Linked DNA regions of Homo sapiens: region 1 is linked to region 2. Evidence: promoter capture Hi-C in 16 types of primary human blood cells and fetal thymus (Javierre and others, 2016). All regions are on one chromosome and are shown on one strand. The core of a region is centred on a gene start or on the middle of the fragment in contact, and the rest is flanking DNA. Distances in the headings are between cores, read along the strand shown. Region 1 overlaps IKZF3 (IKAROS family zinc finger 3). Region 2 holds the start of ORMDL3 (ORMDL sphingolipid biosynthesis regulator 3).

Evidence for each region. Contacts are between HindIII fragments. The CHiCAGO score rates a contact against its expected background, and 5 or more counts as called.
Region 1: a contact is called between a fragment that was not itself captured here and the fragment with the promoter of ORMDL3 in region 2, in 1 of 17 cell types (activated CD4 T cells). The highest score is 5.1, in activated CD4 T cells.

What each region holds. Positions count from the first base shown.
Region 1 is chr17:39,788,952-39,795,932 of GRCh38, reverse strand. It overlaps IKZF3 (IKAROS family zinc finger 3), which reads left to right. Exons shown (of 8, transcript NM_012481.5): 4 at 3,000-3,260; 5 at 4,350-4,517. Among named protein-coding and RNA genes, the nearest start is that of GRB7, 55 kb to the right of the region's middle. RefSeq lists enhancers at 2,953-3,082, 4,180-4,289. The HindIII fragment of the contact is 5,694 bases long and covers 1,713-6,981 here.
Region 2 is chr17:39,926,351-39,932,788 of GRCh38, reverse strand. ORMDL3 (ORMDL sphingolipid biosynthesis regulator 3) reads left to right here and starts at 5,188. Exons shown (of 4, transcript NM_139280.4): 1 at 5,188-5,305. LRRC3C (leucine rich repeat containing 3C) reads right to left here and starts at 5,057. Exons shown (of 4, transcript NM_001195545.2): 1 at 4,975-5,057. LOC124903999 (a long non-coding RNA gene) reads right to left here and starts at 6,069. Exons shown (of 2, transcript XR_007065750.1): 1 at 6,027-6,069; 2 at 5,787-5,861. RefSeq lists enhancers at 4,712-5,323, 5,324-5,934. The HindIII fragment of the contact is 24,326 bases long and covers 1-6,438 here.

The DNA of each region.
Region 1 (6,981 bases), core at 3,310-5,809, 140 kb after region 2:
GTAGCTGGGAGCCACCATGCCCAGCTAATTTTCTATATTTTTAGTGGAGACGGGGTTTTGCTATGTTGACCAGGCTGGTCTCAAACTCCTGACCTCAAGTGATCCACCTGCCTTGGCCTCCCAAAGTGCTGAGATTACAGGCATGAGCCACTATGCCCAGCCAGCAATTTATTATGGCTTACCTTGAGAAGGTAACAGAGTTGAATATTAGAATAAATTAGAATCTGGTTGGACACGGTGGCTCAGGCCTGTAATCCCAGCACTTTGGGAGGCCAAGGAGGGTGGATCACTTGAGGTCAGGAGTTCGAGACCAGCCTGGCCAACATGGCGAAACCCCGTCTTTACTAAAAACACAAAAATCAGCCAGGCATTGTGGTGCATGCCTGTAATCCCAGCTACTCGGGAGGCTGAGGCAGGAGAATCACTTGAACCTGGGAAGCAGAGGTGGCAGTGAGCTGATCGTGCCACTACACTCCAGGCTGGGCAACAGAGCAAGACTATGTCTCAAAAAATAAAATAGAATAAAATAAAAATAAGTTGCTAATCCCCAGTAACCATGCAGAGAGGTCATCCAGGTCATTCATCTAAAACTGGTAAGACTCCAAAGGCAAACCAGCAACTATGTAAGCCCAAAGGACTTCTCTAATGCCCTGTCCCTGTGTCCTTATGTCCCTGGGTCTCAAATACTGTCTTCCTTGCTCTATAGCTGACTCCTAAAGGACTAAAGCTAAGATCTGCTCTTGAGCCAGGATGGTGTCGTATTGAATTCCAGGTCAGGCCAACTAAAGCCAAAATCCTGAGGGAAAGGAGCAGCTCTCTTATGTCCTCTGTTTTCAGAAAGACTCAACACATTGATCTTACTACATTTTAAAGTTCAGTGACCATGGAGTGGCCTGAGTCTGGTCATGTTCACATTTTCTAACCAAAATGGAAAGGATCCTTTTCTGCTGGCCTTTTCTATCTGCTGTTTTTGGTTTTAAGTAGCTGAAATTTTCCGTTGAGGTTCTTTTAAACGCCTACATGCAAACTGAAGAGCACTCAAGCTTTGGTGGGATATTACCCACAGCTGGAGTGATGGAGGAAGGGAGGCAAGTACAAGCCTCAGGTGCATCCTTCTCTTAAAAAAATAAAAAATAAACACTTAAGCAAACAAATTCCACTTGAAAGCAGGGAAGACCTATCCAGAGAAAGAAGTAAACCTCTTTCCAAGTAGGAAACAGATATCATTTCTTATATAATCCAGATCCATAGGGTGGGCAAATTTGAAACATGTTGGACTTATCCTACAGCCCTACATCTTTGCTAGTCAAAGAGTGAAAAGTTGTGAACCATGAACTGTGGTAGGAAGCAGTGGAACTGTGTGGCAGCCCTGGCTCCTCTGATGGTGGTTAGGCCCTGTCTTGCTCTATTAAGCAAACACAGTTAATATAGATGAAAGGTAACCTTGATAGAAGTGAAAATTGAAACTTGGGTTGAAGGTAGCAAGCCAGGCACAGCTGCAGTTGTACTTCCTCCTATGCAGCAAGAGGAGCAACACTTACTGATGTTTTTTGGAAGGGATGTAGTTTTTTAAAATATCTTTTTTCAGACTGTTTTGGGTTTTAACATTTACACCATTGATGGGAGGGTGTGTAATACAGTTGGTAAGAACCCACTTAGGCCTTATATGTCTAGTGCATGAGGTCAAATCCAAGTAATTGATAGTTCAAGCTTAAGTTTTGCATTCTAATCACACCTCTGCCAGTAACTGGATGTGTAACCTTCGACAAATGACCAAAAACATCTCTGCTCCCAGATTTCCTCATCTGAGAAACAAGAGGGTTGGATTAGATGACCTTTAAATTCCCTTCCAGCCCTACACTCCATTGATTTGTGATTCCTCATGGGGAGGTACAACTTTTGATTTCTAAGGACCAATGGTTGAAAAAGTAAGCATTTATATAGCATATTTTATATATGCAAAATCCCTTACAAATGTTTATTATTCTTACATCAGGCAAATTTTTAGGTTTTACTAGTGTCAGTGCAAGTACATAAATTTGCCTTCTTTGTTTCTTATGTTCTTCATATTTTTCCCACGTTCTTCATATGTTCTTATGCTCTTCATGAAGAGTATTACAGCTCTTCTTTTAAATTTCATTCATTTACATTGCAGTTCTTAAGATAGTACTTGGTCAGCCAACTCACTTGAGCCAGTCCCTCCTCTCCTATCCAGTCCTATTACACAATCCTTGAGTCCTTGAGTTTAGTTCTCCCTAACTTGGGACCTAATGGTCCTTCCCCTTATTTAGATTGAGCCCCACTTACCTGTGTCGATGAAAGTGACTCCTTAGGTTATATGAAAGAATTACTTTTCCTTTTGTCTTTCTCAACACTTTTTCATTAGTACTGACAACTTCCTCTACAGTCAATGTTGTGCCTTTATCAGCTCCAAGAGAGACAGAGATAAGATGTGTTTTAGCAATTCATATACGTGGAAGGGGAAGAGGCAATGCATGGCTTAAAATTAGAAAAACTATGTTAACTAGTCAACTCTTAATCTTAATGGCTTACACTGGATGCATCTGAAGGATTCAAACAATATTTTCTCCTTGAAACCTAAGAGTACATCACCTTGCCTTTTTAACTGCAGCCACCAAAAACAGTACTAGATCTGAGAACCCTTCCTCTCCCCTAGTACTGGAGAAGAGTTGCTCAATGTTTGTTTCATGGCCACTTTGAGCAAACTTAGCTAAAATCTATTATCTGTAATTTTCTGGATAGCCTAAAACACTATCGTCTATTTTTATGTGTGTAAGTATGTGTGTTTTCCTCTGACTGTGGTTCTGAATTTAAATAACGTGCGGTCACGCTAATGGTGCTTTCTTGTTTTGTAGATGTACAGTGTTTTGTTAGCTTCGATTGGTATTTAATTGTCAGTTGTGGGTCTCTGCTGTTTGAGCTGCTTTGATAGCTTCAAGTATAGTCGTTGTTCATTTCTTGCATTTTCTTCCCTGCAGATGATTCAATGAAAGTGAAAGATGAATACAGTGAAAGAGATGAGAATGTTTTAAAGTCAGAACCCATGGGAAATGCAGAAGAGCCTGAAATCCCTTACAGCTATTCAAGAGAATATAATGAATATGAAAACATTAAGTTGGAGAGACATGTTGTCTCATTCGATAGTAGCAGGCCAACCAGTGGAAAGATGAACTGCGATGTGTGTGGATTATCCTGCATCAGCTTCAATGTCTTAATGGTTCATAAGCGAAGCCATACTGGTAAATAGTCTGCTTTTTTCATTCTTCTGAAAACTCTCCTAATGCAGCCACGTGAGAAATGAAGTGGTGGAATTTGGAACTTTTGGTTACTTTCATTGATTTTTGCTATAATGCTGATGTATCTCTCTCTCTGCATTGCTGTTCACTCAGTGCTTTTTATTCCTGCCTCACCATGCATTTGGCAAACATATTGCAAATGCTATGAATAAAAAAAGACTGTAGAGAGCACAGTGTTCTAGGTCAGCCAAATACTTTTTCTTCAGTTTCTAAGTAGGAGTTGAATTGTGTGATTTGCTTCTTAGCCATCTTTTGTATATTTTTGCATAACATTTTTAATAAGAGCAGATCTTCTTATTGTATTGGGTTCAAATTTGGTAAATGAAAGGACATAGTTTTTATTTCCAGCTTAAAATAATGTATCTTCAGACAATAAACAGGTAGTCTATAGAAATGCATACAAACACAACCATCGCACTTGAGCCAGTCGATTCCATCCCATATCTCATATGAAGACTTTAAAAAGGAGAATTTCTAGCCCTCAACACCTTGTAAGGACTTTAGTTTCTGGCTCTTTTTTCAAAGGAGATTATATTCAAAAGGAATACTAAAAAATTAGCCAGGCATAATGGCAAACACTGGTAGTCCCAGCTATTCTGAAGGCTGAGGTGACAGGCTCACTTGAACCCAGGAGGTCAAGGTTTCAGTGAGCCATGATGGGACCATTGCACTCCAGCCTGAGCAACAGAGCAAGAAGACCCTGTCTAAAAAAAAAAAAAAAAAAAAAAGGGAGTACCAAGTAATATAGTAATATAAAAACTTAGATCTAGAAAGCACTTCTAGAGCTGCTCTTGTTTCTTTGCTCTGATTCAATATGATACCTAAAATAGCCTTGCTAGTGGGTGCTTTTTCTCTTCTACAGAGGAGATTTCATAAGTAAGTCTTAGGCTTGCCTTGAAATGCAGCTCCCAACTGATCCCAATGTGAACAGTAATTGTCTAAAAGATGAGCTTTTCCCCTAGGCATCTAATCTGTGCATATGTTTCTCCACTTGCCTGTGACCAGAAATCTCCTTTTTTGTCCTTTTTAAAGGTGAACGCCCATTCCAGTGTAATCAGTGTGGGGCATCTTTTACTCAGAAAGGTAACCTCCTCCGCCACATTAAACTGCACACAGGGGAAAAACCTTTTAAGTGTCACCTCTGCAACTATGCATGCCAAAGAAGAGATGCGCTCACGGGGCATCTTAGGACACATTCTGGTAAGTGAGAGAAATGAGCATTCCTTGTCTAGGAAGTGCATTCCTCAGAGCCCAGTGTGGAAACTAGAAAGAGTTAAGTAGGAAGGTTTCAATCTGTCATTCTTGTTCTGAAGGGTTACAACAGCAGAGACCTCTAGGGCTAATTACACGACCATTAAGGCACTAATTGCTCTCCGTCTGCCTCAGTGGAGATGATCATCTCCTCACCATCCTTGCACCCATGGAGAACAACACAGTCAGATAGGAAGAGCCCACCCTATAAAAAATGTCCTTTTAATTTTTGTGAGAAAATTATAGCCATCAGTATTTTCTTCTGGTAAACTTTATTAGAAGATTATTTTCCCAACACACACACTCTTTCCATTCAAAAGACGAGACAAGCAAATGATGTACAGTTTGTAAATTATGAAAAACTGTGATCTGGATATAAATCATTGTTTGGGGGCTACTTTTTGGCCATTTGGGATAAATTTATTAAATCCAACTTTCCTCTTGATTGGCCCACTTTTTTTTTTTTTTTTAAATAAACATGAGGTCTCACTATGTTGCTCAGGCTGGTCTCAAACTTCTGAGCTCAGGCATTCCTCCCACTTTGACCTCCCAAAGTGCTGGGATTACAGGCAGGAGCCACCATGCCCAGCCAGCCTACTTATTTTAAATCTCTAAAAGATTGAACAACGGTAAAGATTTGTAAAAGTTATGTGCTGTCGTGATGTTTTTACTCCTTATTTTGACCAAGATAATACTTTTTTTTCAAGATTTAGAATTTCCGTCCTAGAAAAATAAGACTGAGTTTATTTTCAAATTTGGGACCTCATGTTCTTGATGTTATCTGGCAAAATTTTAATTGGAAAAAAAGGCTTGTTTTTATGTCAGTTCACATCTACTGCTTTGATTAAAACCTAGCCCCAAACTCAAAACTTGTTATAATTCAGCCACTAGGATTAAACAAGTCAGCCCCAACAAAACCCACCATGAGAGATCATAATTGGCAATTGAAGGGTTTCTCTCTTTTACAGCTCATTTTTCAAAGTAGTGAATTAAGGATGAGTTTGGTTCGAAAAAAATTAGAATAGTTCTCTACTGTTGCCTTTTTCAAGTAAGAAACAATAGTAGGCTTTTTAAAGACAGATTCCAGAGAACCCAATTTATGCAGAAACGTAACATTTTTAGCCCTAGCAAACCTGCATTTGTTTTAATTTAGGATTCCATAAGGATCTTTTAGTGCTTTAAATCCCAAAGCCTCTGTTTTAAACAGAGCAAGAGTTAGAAAATAAAAATTTTAGCCCCTAAAACTGACAAATTCATTGAGTATATTCTATCAACAATCAGAAAGACCAGCCTTGCACAGATAGTTGAAGTTATTACTTACATATTTCAAGCAATAAAGCATTTGGGGAGTTGGCAGAATAAAGTTTGCATGAATTGTATGGGTGAAACCTTTCCTTCATCTTAGACATTTAGACGAAGTCATTTTTACAATTCATTTTTATTTCTCTCTTTTTTTTTTTTTTTTTGAGACGGAGTCTTGCTCTGTTGCCTAGGCTGTTGCAGTGGCGTGATCTTGGCTCACTGCAACCTCCGCCTCCCAGGTTCAAGCGATTCTCCTGCCTCAGCCTCCCTAGTAGCTGGGATTATAGATGCCTACCACAACGCCCAGCTAATTTTGTTTGTTTGTTTGTTTGTTTGAGATGGTGTCTCACTCTGTCACCCAGGCTGGAGTACAGCGGCGCCATCTCAGCTCACTGCAACCTCTACCTCCCAGGTTCAAGCGATTCTCCTGCCTCAGCCTCCCTAGTAGCTGGGATTATAGATGCCTACCACGACGCCCGGCTAATTTTGTTTGTTTGTTTGAGATGGAGTCTCACTCTGCCGCCCAGGCTGGGATGCAGTGGTGCAATCTCAGCCCACTGCAACCTCCACCTCCCAGGTTCAAGCGATTCTTCTGCCTCAGCCTCCTGAGTAGCTGGGACTAAAGGGTCACGCCATCACGCCTGGCTAATTTTTGTATTTTTAGTAGAGATGGGGTTTCACCACATTGGCCAGGCTGGTCTCGAACTCCTCACCTCGTGATCCGCCTGCCTCGGCCTCCGAAAGTGCTGAGATTACAGGCGTGAGCCACTGTGCCTGGCTAATTTTTGTATTTTTAGTAGAGATGGGGTTTTGCCATGTTAGGCAGGCTGGTCTCGAACTCCTGACCTCAGGTGATCCTCCCACTTCGGCCTCCCAAAGTGCTGGGATTACAGGTGTCAGCCACTGCGCCCGGCCTATTTTTATTTCTATTATTCAAAAATATCCTGGCCGGGTGCAATGGCTCACACCTGTAAGCCTCTCACTTTGGGAGGCCAAGGTGGCCTTTGGGAGGCCCAGACTTCACCTGAGCCTATGAAATTGGGGCTGTAGCGAGCTGTGATTTCACCACTGCACCCAAGCCTGGGTGATAGAGTGAGACCCTGTCTCAAAA
Region 2 (6,438 bases), core at 3,939-6,438:
CTAGCCACCATGCCCGGTTGTTGTTGTTTTAAGAGACAGGGCTTGCTTTATTGCCCAGGCTGGAGTGAAATAGCGAGATCATAACTCACTGCAGCCTCGAATTCCTAGCGAGATCATAACTCACTGCAGCCTCGAATTCCTTGGGCTCAAGCGATCCTCCCGCCTTAGCCTCCTGAGTAGCTGGGACTACGGGAACATGCCACCATGCCCGGCTAATTTATTTTTGTTTTTTATAGAGATGGTGGTTGGGTGGGGGGGGGGTCTCATTACGTTGCCAGGCTGGTCTTGAACTCCTGGCCTCAAGCAATCCTCCCGCCTCAGCTTCCCAAAGTGCTGGGATTACAGGCTTGAGCCACAGTGCCCGGCCCAAGGTCTGTTTTTATTTTGTTGAATTTCCATAACCTAGTAAAGTAGATGCTCAAATATCATTCAAATGTGGAATGAATTAATAAAAGGCAACACATACTGAGCACTTAATTATGTGCCAGGAATTGTTTTGAGTGTTTCATTTCACATTTACTGACCCATTTAATATCCACAACATGAGGAGGGTATTATCATGATCATCGCCATCTTCATTTACTTTATTTTTTCCGAACACCAGTGTCACTTGCCAATTCTTTTAGCAACGAGGTAACTGAAGCACAGAGAGGTTCAGTAACTTGCTTAAGGTTACACAGCTGGTAACTAGAGGAGCTGCGAGTTGAACCCTGGCAGTCTGGTGCCAGAGGATGTTACCAGTGCTGCTCTATTTTGGCTTATCTTAATCATTAACGTATATGCAGGTTTAGACTTTTTATTATGAACAGTTTTAAACATTAAAAAAGTAGAGAAAATAGCCCAGGCGTGGTGGCTCATGCCTGTAATCCCAGCACTTTGGGAGGCCAAGGTGGGCAGATCACTTGAAGTCAGGAGTTCAAAACCAGCCTGGCCAACATGGTGAAACCCTGTCTCAACTAAAAATACAAAAATTACCTGGATGTGGTGGCGTGCACCTGTAATCCCAGCCCACTCGGGAGGCTGAGGCAGGAAAATCTCTTGAACTAGGGAGGCGGAGGTTGCAGTGAGCCGAAACTGCACCACTGTGCTCCAGCCTGGGTGACAGAGTGAGACTCTGTCTCAAAAAAAAAAAAAAAAAAAAAGTATAGAAAATAATATAAGGAACTTCATGTCCTCATCACACAGCTTCCATAATTATCACCTCATGGCTCATCTTATTATTTCCCTATGGTTCCCAGTCCAGATTATTTCGAAGCAAATGCAATCACTGTATCATTTCATCCACAGATATTTTAGTATGTATGTATGTCTGAAAGGAGGACTTTTTTTTTTTTTTTTTTTTTGAGACGAAGTCTCTCTCTGTCACCCGGGGTGGAGTACAGTGGTATGATCTCGGCTCACTGCAACCTCTGCCTCCCAGTTTCAAGTAATTCTCCTGCCTCAGCCTCCCGAGTAGCTGGGATTACAGGCACGTGCCACCATGCCTGGCTAATTTTTTTCTATTTTTAGTAGAGACGGGATTTCACCATGCTGGCCAGGCTGGTCTCAAACTCCTGACCTTGTGATCTGCCTGCCTCACCTCCCAAAGTGCTGGGATTACAGGTGTGATCCAACGCACCCAGCCAAGGAAGACTTTTTTTTTTTTTGAGATGAAGTTTCACTCTTGTCTCCCAGGCTGGAGTGCAATGGCACGATCTCGGCTCACTGCATCCTCCACCTCCTGGGTTCAAGCGATTCTCCTGCCTCAGCCTCTCAAGTAGCTGGGATTATAGGCGCCTGTCACCACGCCTGGCTAATTTTTGTATTTTTAGTAGAGGCGGGGTTTCACCATGTTGGCCAGGCTGGTCTCGAACTCCTGACCTCAGGTGATCTGTCTGCCTGAGCCTCCCAAAGTGCTGGGATTACAGGCATGAGCTACCACGCCCAGCCATGGAGGACTTTTTAAATTAAAAAAACAACCTTACCACAATTCCATATCACGCCTAAACATTTAGAATTCCTTAATATCGTTGAATACCTTGTCAGTATTCAAATTTGCCTGATAACTTAATAAAATCTTTTTTTTTTTTTTTTTTTTTTTGAGACAGAGCCTTGCTCAGTCACCCAGGCTGGAGTGCCAATGGTGCAATCTTGGCTCACTACAACCTCTGCCTCCTGGGTTCAAGCAATTCTCTTGCTTCAGCCTCCTGAGTAGCTGGGATTACAGGCGCCCATCACCACACCCAGCTAGTTTTTGTAGTTTTAGTAGAGACGGAGTTTCACCACGTTGGCCAGGCTGGTGTCAAACTCCTGACCTCAGGTGATCCGCCTACCTTGGCCTCCCAAAGTACTGGGGTTACAGGCATGCGTGACCATGCCCGGCCTTTTTTTTTTTTTTTTTTTTTTTTTTTTTAAAGTCAGTTTGCTTGAATCAGGATCCAAATAAGACTTTTAGTTGATATATCATTTAATTTATTTTAATCTGTAAGTCTCTCCCCCTCTTTTTTTTCCTTTTTTTTTTTTTTTTTTTTTGAGACAGGATCTCACTCTGCTGCCCAGACTGGAATGCACTGGCACGATCACAGCTCACTGCAGCCTTGACCTCCCGGGCTCAATTGATCCTCCCACCTCAGCCTCCTGAGTAGCTGGGACTATAGACACACCACCATGCCCAACTAATTTTTGTATTTTTTGTAGACCACGGGGTTTTACCATGTTGTCCAGGTTGGTCTCGAACTCCTGGACACAAGCCTTGGCCTCTCAAAGTGCTGGGATTACAGGCGTGAGTCACCATACCTGGCCCCAGTTTTATTTGTTAAGGGAATTGGGTGTTTGTCCTAATTTTCTTCATTCTAGACTTTGCTGACTATATCCCTGGGGAATGTATGTTATGCTATTTTGTGTCCTCATCTTTTCATATAACTTAGCAAACATTCCCCATACTGCCACAGGGTTTTCACAATCTGTCCTAAATGGCTTCATACTATTCCATCCAGTGGATATACTGTAATTTTTTTCTTGGGCATTTGGTTGCTTTCAGTTTTTCACTACTATAAATATTGCTGGAATGAACATCCTGACACATTGCAGCTTTTCCTGTACATGGGATGACTTCCTTAGAATATGCTACCAAAAGTGTAATTATGGCTCTGAGGCAAGAAGAATTTTTCAGCTTCTTGGCACACAGTGACAAGTGTTTGTCCAAGGGTTTGTATGTCCCCCAGCACGAAATAAGAGAGCTGTCACTCACTCTGAATAGTGCTTAGGGCTATTCACAGCTGAAGAACGTTTGGGGAAGATATGATAATTATGAGGGCCAAGAGAGAAGGAGAAAGATGACAACAGGGACTCCCGCTAAATAAAGCAGAAAGTGATCTGCAATTTACCACAAACCTAGAGTGAGTCAGAACTCTGTTCATTCCTATTGTGAAAAAAAAATCCTCGATAACAGGAGTTATTAATAGTGCATGACATGTTCAGTAATCTTTCTGTTAGACTCTGCATTAGTCAGAACCTTATTTGAGACGTGGACTCAGTCTGGGTCACTGAACTTCATAGAGATGTCAGGAAACTGACCAAGATCCAGAGGGATCGATCAACTTGATGGAGGATGAAGAATCCCAGAGAAAAATCAAAGGAGTCAAGCAGGCACACTTCGGAAAAAACAGAGACACCTTTCTTGCCTTAATGCTGGGGAGGTTTCTGTGAAAAGAACAACACTGGGTTTGCTTATGTCTGCAGAAAGATGACTATAAGGAAAGGCACCTCCACAAACCAGGAGAAACTTCCACAGGACATAGGCAGAGCTATTTCAGACTCAGATGATTATTTCGATCTTGGAATGAGCCCTTTTGGGGCCATTGGCCCTGGAAATATTGAAGAAGCTGCCTGTTCTGCTCTGGGTGGTTCAAATACCCACCTGCCTGGTGACCACTAAGTGCCTCTGGGGGTCCCACTCCAGCTGTGTGACAACTGTTTCCTGGCAGCCCCCTGGGGAAGGAAAGGTAGGTGTAGTCCGAGTAAAGTGCTCCGCAGTTTCCCTGGGCTAGCCTTTTCCTTCCTGTTCCCTCACTTTCAGTTCAGGGTGCCATGAACTGCCATTCAGAGTCAGGTTGGCATGCCATGACATCATCTGACCTTGCTATTCCAGCCCTGCCCTGCATAGAGTGGACTTAGAAAGAAGCTGGGTAAGGAGTTGAAACTACCCAGACAAGACCTCTTGGTGACATGGAGAATGGGAGTAACCGAGGAGACCTCAAGAGCCATTTAGTTCAACCTCCTACAGTAATATTAAGTAGATTCCTACAATGCAACAGGTGCTTTACATACATTCTTTTGGGTTCCCACAACCTTGGAGGTGGGGTTTCACAGGTGTGGAATTGGAGATTAAGACAAGTAATTTGCCCAGGGTCACACTGCCAATAAAGGAGGGCCTACCCCATGTCTACCAGGCAGTAAAGTCTGTGCCCTTGCCTTTAGACGATGCAGATGTGAAAACTGCAGACCAGAGCCTCTCATTCAAAGCCACACAAGCTGACCTGAGACAGAAACTCAGGCTCCTTACTACTGATGGAGGAATCTATGATACGTAGCCTCTTCTCACGTCAGGTGCGGGGCGGCCAAGGATGTGGCCCGGTCCGGGGCAGCCTGGGCCAAGCGTGACTGAGAAGGAGAAGGCAGGCTCCGTTCCGGGCCCTCCAGACCCTCATCCCAGCCAATGTTGTGAAAAGCGCTCTCCCAGGAGGGCCCAGCAGGGCAAAGGGCCGGGCTAGTCTGTTTCTGGAGGAGCCAATCTGGGGCCAGGGCGGAGGCAGCCAGGTGCAGTGGAAAAATCCTGCAGTTGGGGTCAGAATATTTGGGTTTCGATCCAGTCTAGGACCCAGCAAAGACCTACAGAAAGTTACTTACAAGTCCGAGTCTCCTCATCTGCAAAACTGGGGCACGGATAAAATACACTTGAAGGGCACAGAAGCAAAAGTTGGAATTGTTACGCACCAAAATTCTATCATCCGATCTGACCATCACGTCACGGTACAACTTCCAACCGTGCGTCCCCGAAGAGGCCGGGAACGGAGCCCAGGAAAAACTACAACTCCCAGGAGGCGTCGGGAGGGCCGGCCCGGAGCCAGCGGAAGAAACTACAACTCCCAGAAGGCGTCGGGCGTGCCGGCGCGGGGCGGTGACGTACGGGGACCGGCGCGGAGCGCTGATTCGGCCGGAGCTGCCAGCGGGGAGGCTGCAGCCGCGGGTTGTTACAGCTGCTGGAGCAGCAGCGGCCCCCGCTCCCGGGAACCGTTCCCGGGCCGTTGATCTTCGGCCCCACACGGTGAGCCCGGAAGGAACCAAGAGGCCCCAGGGCTACGGGAGGGGCGGGAGAGAAGGTGGGGGCTGCTGGGGAGGCGCCCCGGGCTGGAGAGACGGGGGCAGAGGGAGTGGGGGGTGGAGGGAGTGCATCAGCCGAGGGGGTGCATCGGCTGGGGAGGTGGCCAAGGAATAAAGTGCGAGCGGGAGGCCGGGGGTGGAACGTCGGGAGGAGCGCCTCGGCTAGGGGTGGGAGGCGGGGAGCGGCTCGGCTTCGGGGATAAACGTTTGGCTGCCTCCAGGGCTGGGTGAACGCGTGGAGATGGCTGTGGGGTCCCGGACCGGACCGGGTTCCGAGTGCGAAGACCCAGGCTGGGGAACAGAGCGGGACCCCTCCCCCCGGCCCCGCACCCGAGGTCTCACTCAGAAAACCCCAACAACAGTGAGGACTCCGCCTCTTCGCTCCTCCTCTCCTGTGCTTAGTGCGGGTTCGCCTGGGCACTCGCTTTCCGCTCCTACCGCCCTCCCCCAGTCGGGGTGGCTGGGCCAAAGTTGAGAGGTTATCAGCTGTGGTCCTGCAGCTTGGGGGGTGGGCGGAATGGACATGGCATTGTGACGTGCTGCCCCGGACTCCCCGTTGGGGTCCCCATCCAGGCCTGGATGTTTTGTGCTCCTCTTCCAGAAGACAGGAGGTTTGCTGTTGTGAGGGCTGCTCTTTCCTGGGGGAGGGAATGGGAAGGGCTCACCTGGTGGCTGCCCTGGTGGTGCTCAGCCTTGGCTTGAGTGTCTGGCATACTGGCTGGGCCCGGATATTTGTATGTGGAGCCAAGAGGGTGGGGCGGGAAGGAGGGGGAAAGAGCTACCAGCAAAAAAGTGGTTAACACAACAGAGTTGCTGCAGGCTCTGGTTTGAGGCAGGTTATGAAACCACATCAGGGCCCAGCACTAAGCAGCCACCTGCCAGCTATGGCAGCAGAAGTTTTCGGCTCAACTCCTGTAGACCTAGTCGACCTCTGCCAGCCTCTTCTCTCTGTTTCTCCCCATCTAGGGTAGGGGCCAGTTGGTTGTTTTACTAATGGAAGTGATATGTATCCATAGTCACACGAAAGTCTCAAGAGTGTTTCCTCATTGCCAGTCTTTTTGTTAGTTTATTGATCTC